3 separate regions of the Homo sapiens genome follow, and regions 1 and 2 are each linked to region 3. Evidence: promoter capture Hi-C in 16 types of primary human blood cells and fetal thymus (Javierre and others, 2016). All regions are on one chromosome and are shown on one strand. The core of a region is centred on a gene start or on the middle of the fragment in contact, and the rest is flanking DNA. Distances in the headings are between cores, read along the strand shown.

What was found. Contacts are between HindIII fragments. The CHiCAGO score rates a contact against its expected background, and 5 or more counts as called.
Region 1: a fragment that was not itself captured here is called in contact with the fragment with the promoter of H2BC6-AS1 in region 3 in 3 of 17 cell types (naive CD4 T cells, non-activated CD4 T cells and naive CD8 T cells); the score reaches 8.2 in naive CD4 T cells.
Region 2: a fragment that was not itself captured here is called in contact with the fragment with the promoter of H2BC6-AS1 in region 3 in 1 of 17 cell types (non-activated CD4 T cells); the score reaches 5.0 in non-activated CD4 T cells.

The regions. Positions count from the first base shown.
Region 1 is chr6:26,473,912-26,477,779 of GRCh38, reverse strand. It overlaps LOC285819 (a long non-coding RNA gene), which reads left to right. Exons shown (of 4, transcript NR_038992.1): 3 at 299-1,628. It also overlaps a transcript of BTN2A1 not described here. Among named protein-coding and RNA genes, the nearest start is that of BTN2A1, 18 kb to the right of the region's middle. RefSeq lists an enhancer at 1-839. The HindIII fragment of the contact is 640 bases long and covers 1,648-2,287 here.
Region 2 is chr6:26,451,968-26,455,774 of GRCh38, reverse strand. It overlaps BTN3A3 (butyrophilin subfamily 3 member A3), which reads right to left. Exons shown (of 11, transcript NM_006994.5): 11 at 2,360-3,807. The coding sequence ends at 3,364. Among named protein-coding and RNA genes, the nearest start is that of BTN2A1, 4.1 kb to the left of the region's middle. The HindIII fragment of the contact is 3,069 bases long and covers 93-3,161 here.
Region 3 is chr6:26,170,855-26,174,743 of GRCh38, reverse strand. It overlaps H2BC6-AS1 (H2BC6 antisense RNA 1), which reads left to right and starts at 1,971. Exons shown (of 3, transcript NR_186648.1): 1 at 1,971-2,709. It also overlaps a transcript of H2BC5 not described here. RefSeq lists an enhancer at 2,005-2,897. The HindIII fragment of the contact is 22,011 bases long and covers 1-3,889 here.

The sequences.
Region 1 (3,868 bases), core at 718-3,217, 300 kb before region 3:
AGGAGTTGATAGGTCTCCTCAGGGGGAGGGCTGTTTGGCCTGCTAAGGGGTCTCCATTCCCCCAGGCTCCCTCTGTCACCAGCAGCCAGAGGGTGATGTTAAGAGTTGACTGTGCCCAGGCTTGTAATGCCTCGTGAGATAATCTCACAGGAAGCTGGACTCTTGGCCATCTTCCAAAGCCCCTCTCTGTGTTCCAAGGAAGTATTAGGCTTTCTTTCTTTTTTTTTTCCCCACAACTTAAAATCTCTGTGTTCATCACTAAAAGGGTATCAGCATTTTTCATTTCCACTTATTTTAGGTCTTTGGATACCTCAGAGGTTAAATCTCAGCACCCAGAGCAGTGCCCAGCCACTAACCTGCACAAGATCGAGCCAGTTTCCATTCTATAATAAAACAGAAACAAGAGTCATTGCCAGGTTAAAGAGAAAATCAGCTGGGTACGGTGGCTCACACCTGTAATCCCAGCACTTTGGGAGGCCAATGCAGGAAGATCACTTGAGCCAACTAAGGAGTTCGAGCGAGACTCCATCTCTACAAACAATTTAAAATAATAAAGAGACAGAGAGAGAAAGAAAAAAAAATCTTGTGTAATTTAAAGTAAAAGACAAAACTAAACTTCCTCCTTTGTATAGTGGTGTGAAGAAGAAGAAGAGGAAGAAGAAAAAGAGGAAGAAGAAGAAGGAGGAAAATAAAAAGACAAAACTAACATAAAAATTTCAGGAGCTTCTTTGTAAAATGAATAGAAATTCTTCAATAGGCCTCTGGGGCTGAGATGTGAGGAGGAGGAGGAAGAAAATGAGAGTGGGAAGGACGCACTGGAGGACTGTTACTATCTGAATCCTATCGCCTACAAAACATCAACTGATCAATCAGGCACAAGAAAGTGTTCTGCTTCTTTCTGTCACCTTAGAAATAACCTGGACGTCAAACATCGGTGAAAAGAAGAGAAAAAAAGGAAAATGAAATAACCTGGAAGCTCCTGATGATTTGAGATCAGATCTTTACATACTAAGAGATGGTTGCTATATCTGGGGGCCTTGAGTGAAAGGCAGCAGTGGGAGCCCAGCACCCATTTCCAGACAACTCCACAGCCCAGAGCCCAAACTCAGCAGTTATGAGTTGAATTTATTTTGTCAAACAAAAAGAGTCAAACTCTGTAAAATATTGCAAGAGATTTATTCTCAGCCAGATATGAGTGCCCAGTGGCTTGTGACACAGCCCCGAGATCCTGTGAACATGTGCCGAAGTGGTTGGGCTCCAGCTTCTTTTTATACTTTATATTTATTGAGATGTTTTAACTCTGCAGGCCAGAGAGAGAGACCTATCTGAAACCAGCTTGGGCAGCTGGAGAAGAATGAGGGTGAGCAGACATCTGGGCAAGCCGGAGTTTGGGAAAACTGCCATCTTCGACCTTTCTGGAGCAGCAAGATACTGGTGTGAGTCTGTCAGGAGCTTCAGCCTAGCTGATGAATAGACAGGAGAGAGCGATGGGCTCTACAGACCCGCTCAGCAGTTCTTTCCAACTTGGAGTGCTCTGGTCATTTGCATCTGAATCCTGCTGTGTCTTCTCTCCAGTGGAGATTTTCAAACCAGGCTGCCATCAGCACCCACTCACCACCCTAAGTTTGGTAAATGATATATAAAGCTTCAAACTGGCCCTACAACTCAAAAGGAGACATAGGAGAAGGGAGGCGTTCATGGGTTGCATATAAATGAGCACAGTTTGAAATCACTACACTAAAAAAAAATCTTTCAACTATAATAATATGTTATTTACTTTCAGCAATGAGTCAGTCAGGAATTTAGCCCAGGAAATCAACAGAAAAATAGACTCCTCCCTCCCCTGAGATGCTGCCTGCACTGGATTCATGTAAATTTAAATATAAATTTAGATTGATGTTCTTTCACCATCCTCCCCCATTATCCTTCTCTCACTTCAATCATAAATGCTCTTCTGTTTGCATCATAAATTTTTCCCCTCAATCCAGTACATTTTTCTTTTTTCCTTGTATTTATTTTATTTTATTTTAATTTTTTAGAGATGAAGTCTCACTATGTTTCCCAGTCTGATCTTGAACTTTTGGGCTCAAGTGATCCTCCCAACTCAGCCTCTCAAAGTGCTGAAATTACAGGCGTGAGCCACTATGCCCTGCTGATCCTGTACATTTTTTGAGTTCATTGTACCAATAGTTCCTCCATTAGCTTGGTTAAACATTCACAAAACAAAACAAAATGCCCCCAAATGTGACAGCTGAGTCCTTGTAGGAAAAAATCCTTAAGTGAAGCTTAGTATCCTGGGGTTCATTGCATATTCATATATACATACTTGGGGACCCATGCACTAAAAAGACAGACTCCTTTTGTTTACAATAATTCAGCCTTTGCTGTTAAGGTGATTAAGGCAAGTAGGTGTGGGTGGAGAGATAGTGACAAAGGAAGTGAACTAGAGGAATAAAGATCAAAAGATGGGAGGAGGTCACTAGGTCACAGTTAAGCAAGGGCAAGCAGGCAGGAACCAGCCCTGTTGCACTGGTGTACTTGGTCACCTGGGCAGGGTGTTGACGGGCTGTTGTGGGGATGTTGGGGACATCTAGAAAATATGGAGTTGAAAATTTACAATATACATATGAATCTTTAAGGCACATCTCTTTTTAGAACCTTTTGGAATATGTTCCTAAACATAACCAGGAGATATTTTAGGAGTCTTTTCGTCTCCTGGCTGGGGGCAGTGGCTCATGCCTGTAATCACAGCACTTTGGGAGGCCAAGGTGGGTGGATCACTTGAGGTCAGGAGTTCAGTACCAGCCTGGCCGGCCAGCCTGGCCAACATGGTGAAACCCCGTCTCTATTAAAAATACAAAAAATTTGCCAGGTGTGGTGGCGTATGCCTGTATTCCCAGCTACTCCGGAGGCTGAGGCCAGAGAATTGCTTGGCTGGGAAGGTGGATGCTGCAGTGAGCCGAGATTGTGTCACTGCACTCCAGCCTGGGCAACAGTGAGACTCTGACAAAAAAAAAAAAAAGGAGTCTTTGCTCCTTTCTGACTGTAATTAGTTCCTAAGAACATGCAGTTGGAAGGTTTCTCTATTCAGGTTGTCCCTCTTCAGCCAAATCTCAGCCTCTTCAGGTCCTTACTCTTTGCATTCTACCCTCTCCATCCTCACCCCTTTCTCTGTGCCAGTTCCCCTCTCAGCTTTTCAGTCCCTTTTCTTCCAGGCCTTGTAGCCCTGGCTCTAAGCAATTTTCCCCACTTACTCCTTAATATTCCTATCTGAAAATCATAGCCCACAAAAAAAGGTAATCAATAGTTTTCTGTTGTTAATAAAAACTTTAGACAAATTAAATTTAGCAGGGTTTAATTTGAACAAAGAACAATTTGCAAACCATCAGAACGATCGGGCAGCCATCAGAGAGGTTCAGTGAGCTCCATTCCACAAGGGAAGTGACACACAGAAACAGCTTAATTGGTTACAGCTCAGAGTTGGCCTTATTTGAACATAGTCTGATCACTTGGCTGCAGGGTTGACTGCCGCCGACTGAAGTTCGGCTACTGGGATTGGCTGAGACTCAGCTATTTGTTACAAAAGTATACTCCCATGCCTTAAGCTTTCAGTTAGTTTACATACTAAGTTAGGTTGCAGTTCATTATTTAAGGGCTCAAGAGCCATCCCTCAGGCTAAATGTATACATATCTCATACCAAATTTAGTTTAATTTAACACAATTATTTCTGCTTTAGTTAAGATTCTCTGATCCAGAATAAAGGAAAAGAAAGCATGTGCTGTACACTCGGTCCGAGAAACACTAAGAGAATCCTCTTTGTAGGAATTCGTGTTTTGATTGGCTCAGAGGTACCATTTCTCATCAGTT
Region 2 (3,807 bases), core at 378-2,877, 280 kb before region 3:
CATACAGAAAATCCATTCCTACTCTGCCCTGTTCAAATTCTAGATTCCTGACTCACAGAATCACTGAACATATTATAATAGTTGCATAAGCTTCTGAATATTAGGACTACAAGCAATATTAACGAGTACATTTATCTTGCCTCAAAAGAACACATTTTTTCAAAAAGAAGAAATGATACTGGGCTTCTAAAAGAACCAAACGTGAGAAATTTGCCTAAACTCTTTCCATCTTGTAGCCTTCTCTCTGCTCATCTGCTTTGGTCTTCTCTGCAATCCACCATTGTTTAGTCCACACCATGAATGGAGCATTTCTTCCCACAGCTCCCATGCACATCTGCTACAGGAGTAACTAGCCACATGTCACTTGGTCCTCTGGCCTAGCCTGGGTCAGGTGTCCATCCCAGACCCAGTCCATGTGGTGAGGCTGCAGGGCCATGTGATGTGGGCATGTATTGGAAGAGAAGAGGTCACTAATGCTAAATGTGGTACAGCGAGGGCAGAGAGACCTTGAAAGGCATTCACTATATTCTCAGAGGCAGAGCCCTTATAACAGACGCTGTTGATGCCCCATCCCATATTCTCTTGGCCTATCACAGTTTGCCAATAGCTGAGGCACAGTTTTCTGCAAGGATGACAACCTTTCCACCTCCAGTGAGTATCTCCCTTCTCCTTTGCCTGTGAGCTTTATCACACCCGTGATAGTTGCTTTTCTGCAGTTACATAGCCCAATCTTAAAGTGCATTAGAATTAACACTCCCAGGCCAACCTTCAACCAATTCAAGCAAAGGAGGATGGGAAGTGGAGATAAAGTCCCAGGCCCTGTAGTCCTTAGGAAGATTCTGAGCTATATCACACATTTCATATGGTTTCTTAGAGAGTCCTAAAAGGGATTCAGCCAAGTTATCCACATGGTAACTGACTCATGAGTGAACCCTTTATCCCATTTGTCATGTAATTGGCTTTTTTTCATTTCTCAATTTGTTTCTGCACTTGTGTTTCCTGGAATCACTTCCCAAATCAGTGTGGTGAGCTGAATAGTGCTCCCCGCACCCACCCTTTGAGCTATATTCACTATGAAAGTTATGAAAAGAATGTATAACACAGTAAAATGAATTTTACACAGAATTAAGGTTATGGACCTTAAAATAGAGAGATTATTCTAAATTGTCTGGGTGATCTCAGTTTAATCATAGGAGTCTTTAAAAGTAAAAGGCAGACTGAGCGTGGTGGCTCATGCCTATAATCCCAGCACTTTGGGAGACCAAGGTGGGCAGATTGCTTGAGCTCAGGAGTTTGAGACCAGCCTGGGCAACATGGCAAGACCCTGTCTCTACAAGAAAATACCCAGGCATGGTGATGTGGCTCTGTGCTCCCAGCTGCTTGAGAAGCTAAGATGGGTGGATTGCTTGAGCCCAGGGGACAATGTGGTGAGCTGAGATCACGCCACTGCACTTCAGCCTGGGTGACAGAGCGAGTCCTTGTCAAAGAAGAAAAAAAAAAAAAAAAGAAAGGAAGGAAAAAAAGGAGAAGGTAAAAGAATCAGAGAGACACAATGGAGAAAAAGACCTAGGAGATGAGCCTCAATGCGCTGTTGCTGCTTTGAAGATACAGGAAGGGAGCTAGGAGCCAGAGTGTGGCAGCCTCTAGAAGTGGGTACAGCCCTTAGCTAAAAACCAGGGAACAACTGGGACGTCAGTCCTATAAATGAAAGGAACTGATTCTGCCAATAGTCTGAATAAGCAAGGAAACAGATTCTTCCTTAGAGACTCCAGAAAGGAATCCAGCCTGCAGACACCTTGATTCTAGCCTGGTGAGATCCCTGTGGGACTTCTGACTTCTCACCTACAGAACAGTGAGATAATAAATTTGTGTTGCTTTAAGTTCATGAATTTCTGAAGCCAGGCGCGGTGGCTCATACCTGTAATCCCAGCACTTTGGGAGGCCGAGGTGGGTGGATCACAAGGTCAGTAGATCGAGACCATCCTGGACAACATGGTGAAACCTCGTCTGCACTGAAAACACAAAAAATTAGCCAGGCGTGGTGGCACGCACCTGTAGTCCCAGCTACTCGGAAGGCTGAGGCAGGAGAATCACTTCAACCTGGGAGGTGGAGGTTGCAGTGAGCTGAGATCGTGCCACTGTACTCCAGCCTGGGAGTACAGTGGCACAATCCAATCTCAAAAAAAAAAAAATGTCTATACATTTCTGGTAATTCAGATGGCAACAACAGAAAATGCATCCAATAAGGGTCTTGTGAAAATGCTGCAGTGAGGTAAACTGAGACTGTGGTGAGTACAGTGGGTGTGCAGACTACTGTGCTGAGTAGACACCACAGTCTAGAAAAAGCCAAGCTGAGGAGTAAGCATTATTAACACATTTATTGAACAACTAGAACTTGACAACCACTTGCCAAGTAGAGGGGATACAGTGGTGAGCAATAATAGTGATGATAATGAGGAGCAGTTTTCCCTAGCAGGCAGCAGTTGAAAGGAATATGGGTTTAACATCCACCAATGACCAGGAGTGGACAGACCTATTTCCAGGAGACTGAGTCCATAGTGGGATTAAAAACATCCCTGTAATTCTTTTAGCTTCCTTGATCCAAATTTCCTATATCACAGAGAATCTCTAGGGTATTTGCTCTGCCTGGAAACCTTGATTGAAGGAAGGCTGGCTCTGGCTGCACAATCACTTATCACATTTGTTGGGTGGGAACATATCTGTGCCCCATGATTTATCAAGTGTGGCCTCTAGTCTCTTTCCAAGTCACATGTCATGTTGGTACTATGAGGTTATTCTCTCAACCAAGACACTCTGCAGAGCTAATCCAAGGAGTGCTGGGTCTAAGTCTCTGATATCAGCTGGGAAAGAGTCAATAGGGATGTCAACTCCACAAGCACTTAAAATGATCTCTACCCTGCAGCTGTCCTGGGAAGGAAACCTCAGGGCTACATGTGGGCTCTTCCTGTGGGAAAAAAAATCAGGCTGGAAAAGAACAGGCAATTAGCCAGGGACTAAGGCTGAACATCTCCCAACTGCACAAATTACTGTATGAGTTATGTAAGTTACTTCATGTTGCCCTGCCTCAGCTTCCATACTTGCAAAATATGACTACCCGACAGGGTGTTGTGAGGATTAAAGGAGTGACATCCACCAAAGCTTATAACACAGCACTAAGAACATTTTAAATTCTCTGTTAATGTTAGTTATTGCTGTTTAGATCCCAGCTCTGCTGTTCACTTGTCATGTCTACTTTGTAAAGTTAATTCACCTTTCTGCACCCCAGTTTCCTTATCTGTATAAGGGGACAATAAGGTGGTACGAAACTCAAAACAACTGTCATATGGAATAATGGAATGAATATCAGTAAAGTGCTTCAGTGCGTGCCTGTAGCTTATGGTTCTGATTGGTTGTTGCAGAAGGGGAGACCTCAGCTCCAGGGTGGGCAGGGAGAAGCAGAGATGTTACTTCAGCCTGAGGCTCCCCACTTTCATTAGCTAAGCCCGGGGTCAGTGGTGTCTCCAGGGAATGATCAGGCACTAGGTCAGGATCGGGGGAACTCTCTACTTCTTTTGGTATTGGGCAAATGGTCAGGGCAGTGGGCTCCAAGGTCAAAATTCTGAAAACAGGATATAGAGGCTCAGAGAAAGAGGCGTGCGGAAAGGTGTAGATATGAGATCCATCTGTGGCATTATAGAACGAGATCTCTCCAGTCTCATAGTCCAGGAAGATCCCCACTTTCCTAGGAGGCTCAGGAAGTTTCAGGTTGGTTCTGGGCTCAGTGAGAGCCCGATACTTATTCCCATC
Region 3 (3,889 bases), core at 722-3,221:
AGTGGAAAATAATTTTCAAGAAAAAGAAGAAAATAGACAAGCTGACTAAACAAATTATGATTATGAAAATAAGGTAGGCAGTTAAAAAATATTTTCTACGTCCTTCCACCCAAATGCTGCCAAGTCCGGTCAGATATTCCAAGTTTTAGTGAATTTATGAGGAATAGATTATCTCTTTTTTTTTTTTTTTTTTTCTGAGATGGTTCTCGCTACGTTGCCTAGGCTGTAGCGCAGAAGCTATACACAGGCATGATGGCAGCACACTACAGTCTCCAATTCCTGGGCTCAAGTGGTCCTTCTGCTTCACCTCCTGAGTAGCTGGGACTACAGGGACGTGCCACCTCACTTGGCATGATACCTATTTCACAGAATCTGTTACTATAGAAAAACAGCTCTCCTACTCACTTTTTTCTTGTAAAATTGTATAACATTATTAGCAAAACTGGAGAATACAAATTTTAAAAAGGAAGGAAGAGAGAAAGAAGAAAAAAACAAAATTATAGTTTTGTCTCACTAATGAACATTCATTTTTGTTTTTTAGAAAAAAATGCCTATTATGAGAAAAAATGGAAACCAGGAGAAATTGCAGAGACCATGTTATTTAAATAAATAGCTGATTATATAGGGTTTATTCTAAGAATAGAAGGAAGTTTAGTATTCTAAATCTGCCAGTTTAAGAAATTAATAAAGGAAGGCCCAGAGCAGTGGCTCACGCCTGTATTCCTAGCACTTTAGGAGGCTGAGGCAGGTGGATCACTTAATGTCAGGAGTTCAAGGCCAGCCTGGCCAATGGCGGCCTATCTTCTTCTGATAATACAAAACTTAGCCAGATGTGGTGGCACGCACCTGTAGTCCCTGTTACTTGGGAAAGTGAGGCAGAAGAATCGCTTGAACCTGGGAGGTAGAGGTTGTAATGAGCTTAGATCAGGGCACTGCACTCCAGCCTGGGAGACAGAGTGAGATTCCATCTCAAAATAAAAACTAAAATAATAAAAAATAAAATAAAATAAAATAAAATAAATAAAATAAAAAAGAGATTAATAAAGAAAAAACATGATCATCTCCAAAGATACTGCGAAAGCATTTAACAAAATATAACACTCTTTAATCATAAACACTTAACAGACTACAATGAGAAGAGAACTTCATAAGGAGGAGCTACAGCGAGTATAACACTTAATGGTGCCGTTTTGGAAGGATTCCCATAGAGGCGGAAGGAAGACAAGTGTGGTGAGAAAGTACTCCTATTCAACACGGCATCACAGGGTTTGGCCAATACCATGAGATAGGAACAGGCAGTCAGAAGAGCAAGGATTCAATAGGAAAAGATGATTATCTTTGAAAATAACATAATTGTCAAGGTAAAAGTTCACAAGAATCTATAAACAATTAGATCAAATAAGAATTGGAATTAGTGGGCATAGGCCAGGCGTTGTGGCTCACGCCTGTAATCCCAGCACTTTGGGAGGCCGAGGCGGGCGGATCACGAGGTCAGGAGATCGAGACCATCCTGGCTAACACGGTGAAACCCCGTCTCTACTAAAAAATACAAAAAAACTTAGTCGGGCGTGGTGACTGTAGTCCCAGCTACTCGGGAAGCTGAGGCAGGAGAATGGCGTGAACCCGGGAGGCAGAGCTTGCAGTGAGCCGAGACTGCGCCACTGTACTCCAGCCTGGGGGACAGAGCGAGACTCCGTTTCAAAAAAAAAAAAAAAAAAATTAAAGTCATATGAAGATTAATATGTAACATCTTCTTCGACTTAAATGTTCATTTTTTTCCTTCTGACTTTAGAAGAAATTAAAATATTTTCATGAGCCTCCAAAAGAACTGCGGACCCTAGACACCGTGCCTGCTGTTTAATGGAGTACGGCACTGCGTGTACCGGAAGATGATTTTTTTAAAAAAAAACTCAATTAGGAAATAATTATTCGCACACATTCATATACATACATACATACACTGAATCCTCACACGAAGAGCCCTACAGGCGTGAGAACAGTAAGGGAGATGCAAGAAAGGTCTCCTTGGAGTTGGGAGGCGTATTTACAGCTACTAGAGAAGGGGGAAGTGCCAGCTCCCCGAGAAGAAAGCAGGAGGATGCTGAGAGACTAAAGCTGAAATTTTCTGCCTGCTTCCTCACTCTTTTCGTTGGTTTCAGCCGTCTGAAAAACCCTTGTGAGAGGAGCAAAAAGGTCAAGGGAAGATTGTTGCCTTGCTCTCAGTCTTCAAAATTTTCGATCCTCCGTTTTTTTTGTTTTGAGACGCAGTCTCGCTCTGTCGCCTAGGCTGGAGTGCAGCGGCGCGATCTCGGTCACTGCAACCTCCGCCTCCCTGGTTCTAGCGATTCTTCTGCCTCAGCCTCCTGAGTAGCTGGGACTACAGGCGCGTGCCACCACACCCGGCTAATTTTTTTGTACTTTTGATAGGGACGGGGTCTCACGGTGTTAGCCAGGATGGTCTCTATCTCCTGAACTCGTGATCCGCCCGCCTCGGCCTCCCAAAGTGCTGGGATTACAGGCGTGAGCCACCGCGCCCGGCCGGTCCTCTGTTTTTAAACTGTAAAGGACTCCAGCGGATTGTTCGAAGTCTCCGATATCCCGCGATCTGGTGGCCGCAGAAGAAAGAGGCCGAGTCGGCGGGGACTGGGAACCACCAGTTAGCGGCCTACGGGCAACCTCCCGGACGCGCGCGCCGGGCCGACGTTAAACGTACGTGACGCCCTATGCGGGAGCCGGATGGGCGTAACGGGGCGGCGGCGTAACGTGTGGCTCTGTGGTTAGGGCACGGAGGGGCGTGGCCGGACGGCCCTATGAGGGGGCCGGCGTTTTTGGCGAGGGTTGATGGGATGACCCTATGAGGGAGCCTGCGTGGAGGGGCACGACCGGCCCCAAGACTCCTTTTCATGGCCGCATAGCCGCACCGGGAGTAGGATGACCGCTGTTATTTTTCAGGACCTCTCATCTTCGGTTTGAAATTCTTTGCTTTTTTCCGGCTTTGTGTGGCTATTTAGTATTAGCATTTTAGGGCAGTTTCATTTCCTTTAAAGTAAAACTCTCCAAAGTGGTCTCCGGACCAGCAGCATCAGCATCACCTGCATAATTTAGAAGTACAAATTATCAGGTCCTACCTCAGATCTAATGCATCAGAAAAGTTTTGTGACTGCTTCAAAACATTGTTTCCCTTAATTCAGATGCTGGAGGAGACCTTTCAAATGGCAGCTTAGCATAAGCTAACCAGTTTTTAACTTCAGGTTCATTACCAAAGCCACATCAGTGCTTAGGCCTTATCCACTCAGACCTCCTTGATGCTGGAAAGTAAAGTGAAAATAGGTAGATAGATGTCTAGAAAGGGGAGGTCTTAGAAGAAAGGTTTGGATCAACAATGAAGGCAGAATTTACAATTCTCCGCAGATTTTATTAATTATAACTTTTTTTTTCAGACGTCCTGCCATCTTCTCATTCAGACTTTTCTTAGCAAAGGTAGTCCATGGCAAGTAATGAATTCCCAGTAACTAGGTCTGTAACAGAAGTAAATTCTGTTTTTATGTTTATAAACTCAAAAAGTAACATGAAGTGCAAACACCTTTAGTTCCTTCCCCTCGGTAACCTTCTTTTGATGAACCAGTGTGCAGCAAACCAGGATGAGTTGGATTTGGGTGGGATCCACACAGTCATTTTCAGGCAGATGAGACTTCCTAAGTTCTATGTATAGATTCATATTATCAGTTATTTTATGCATTCATTTCTCCTCTGTCTTCATGTCTCTCCCCTGATTGAAGAAATAAGAAGGGTTTAGTTATTAGGTGCCATTTTGCCATCACCATTAATATTTTCTATACAAAGAGGATTCTTTCTACATGTGCTTCTATAATGAACTATTAGGAATCTC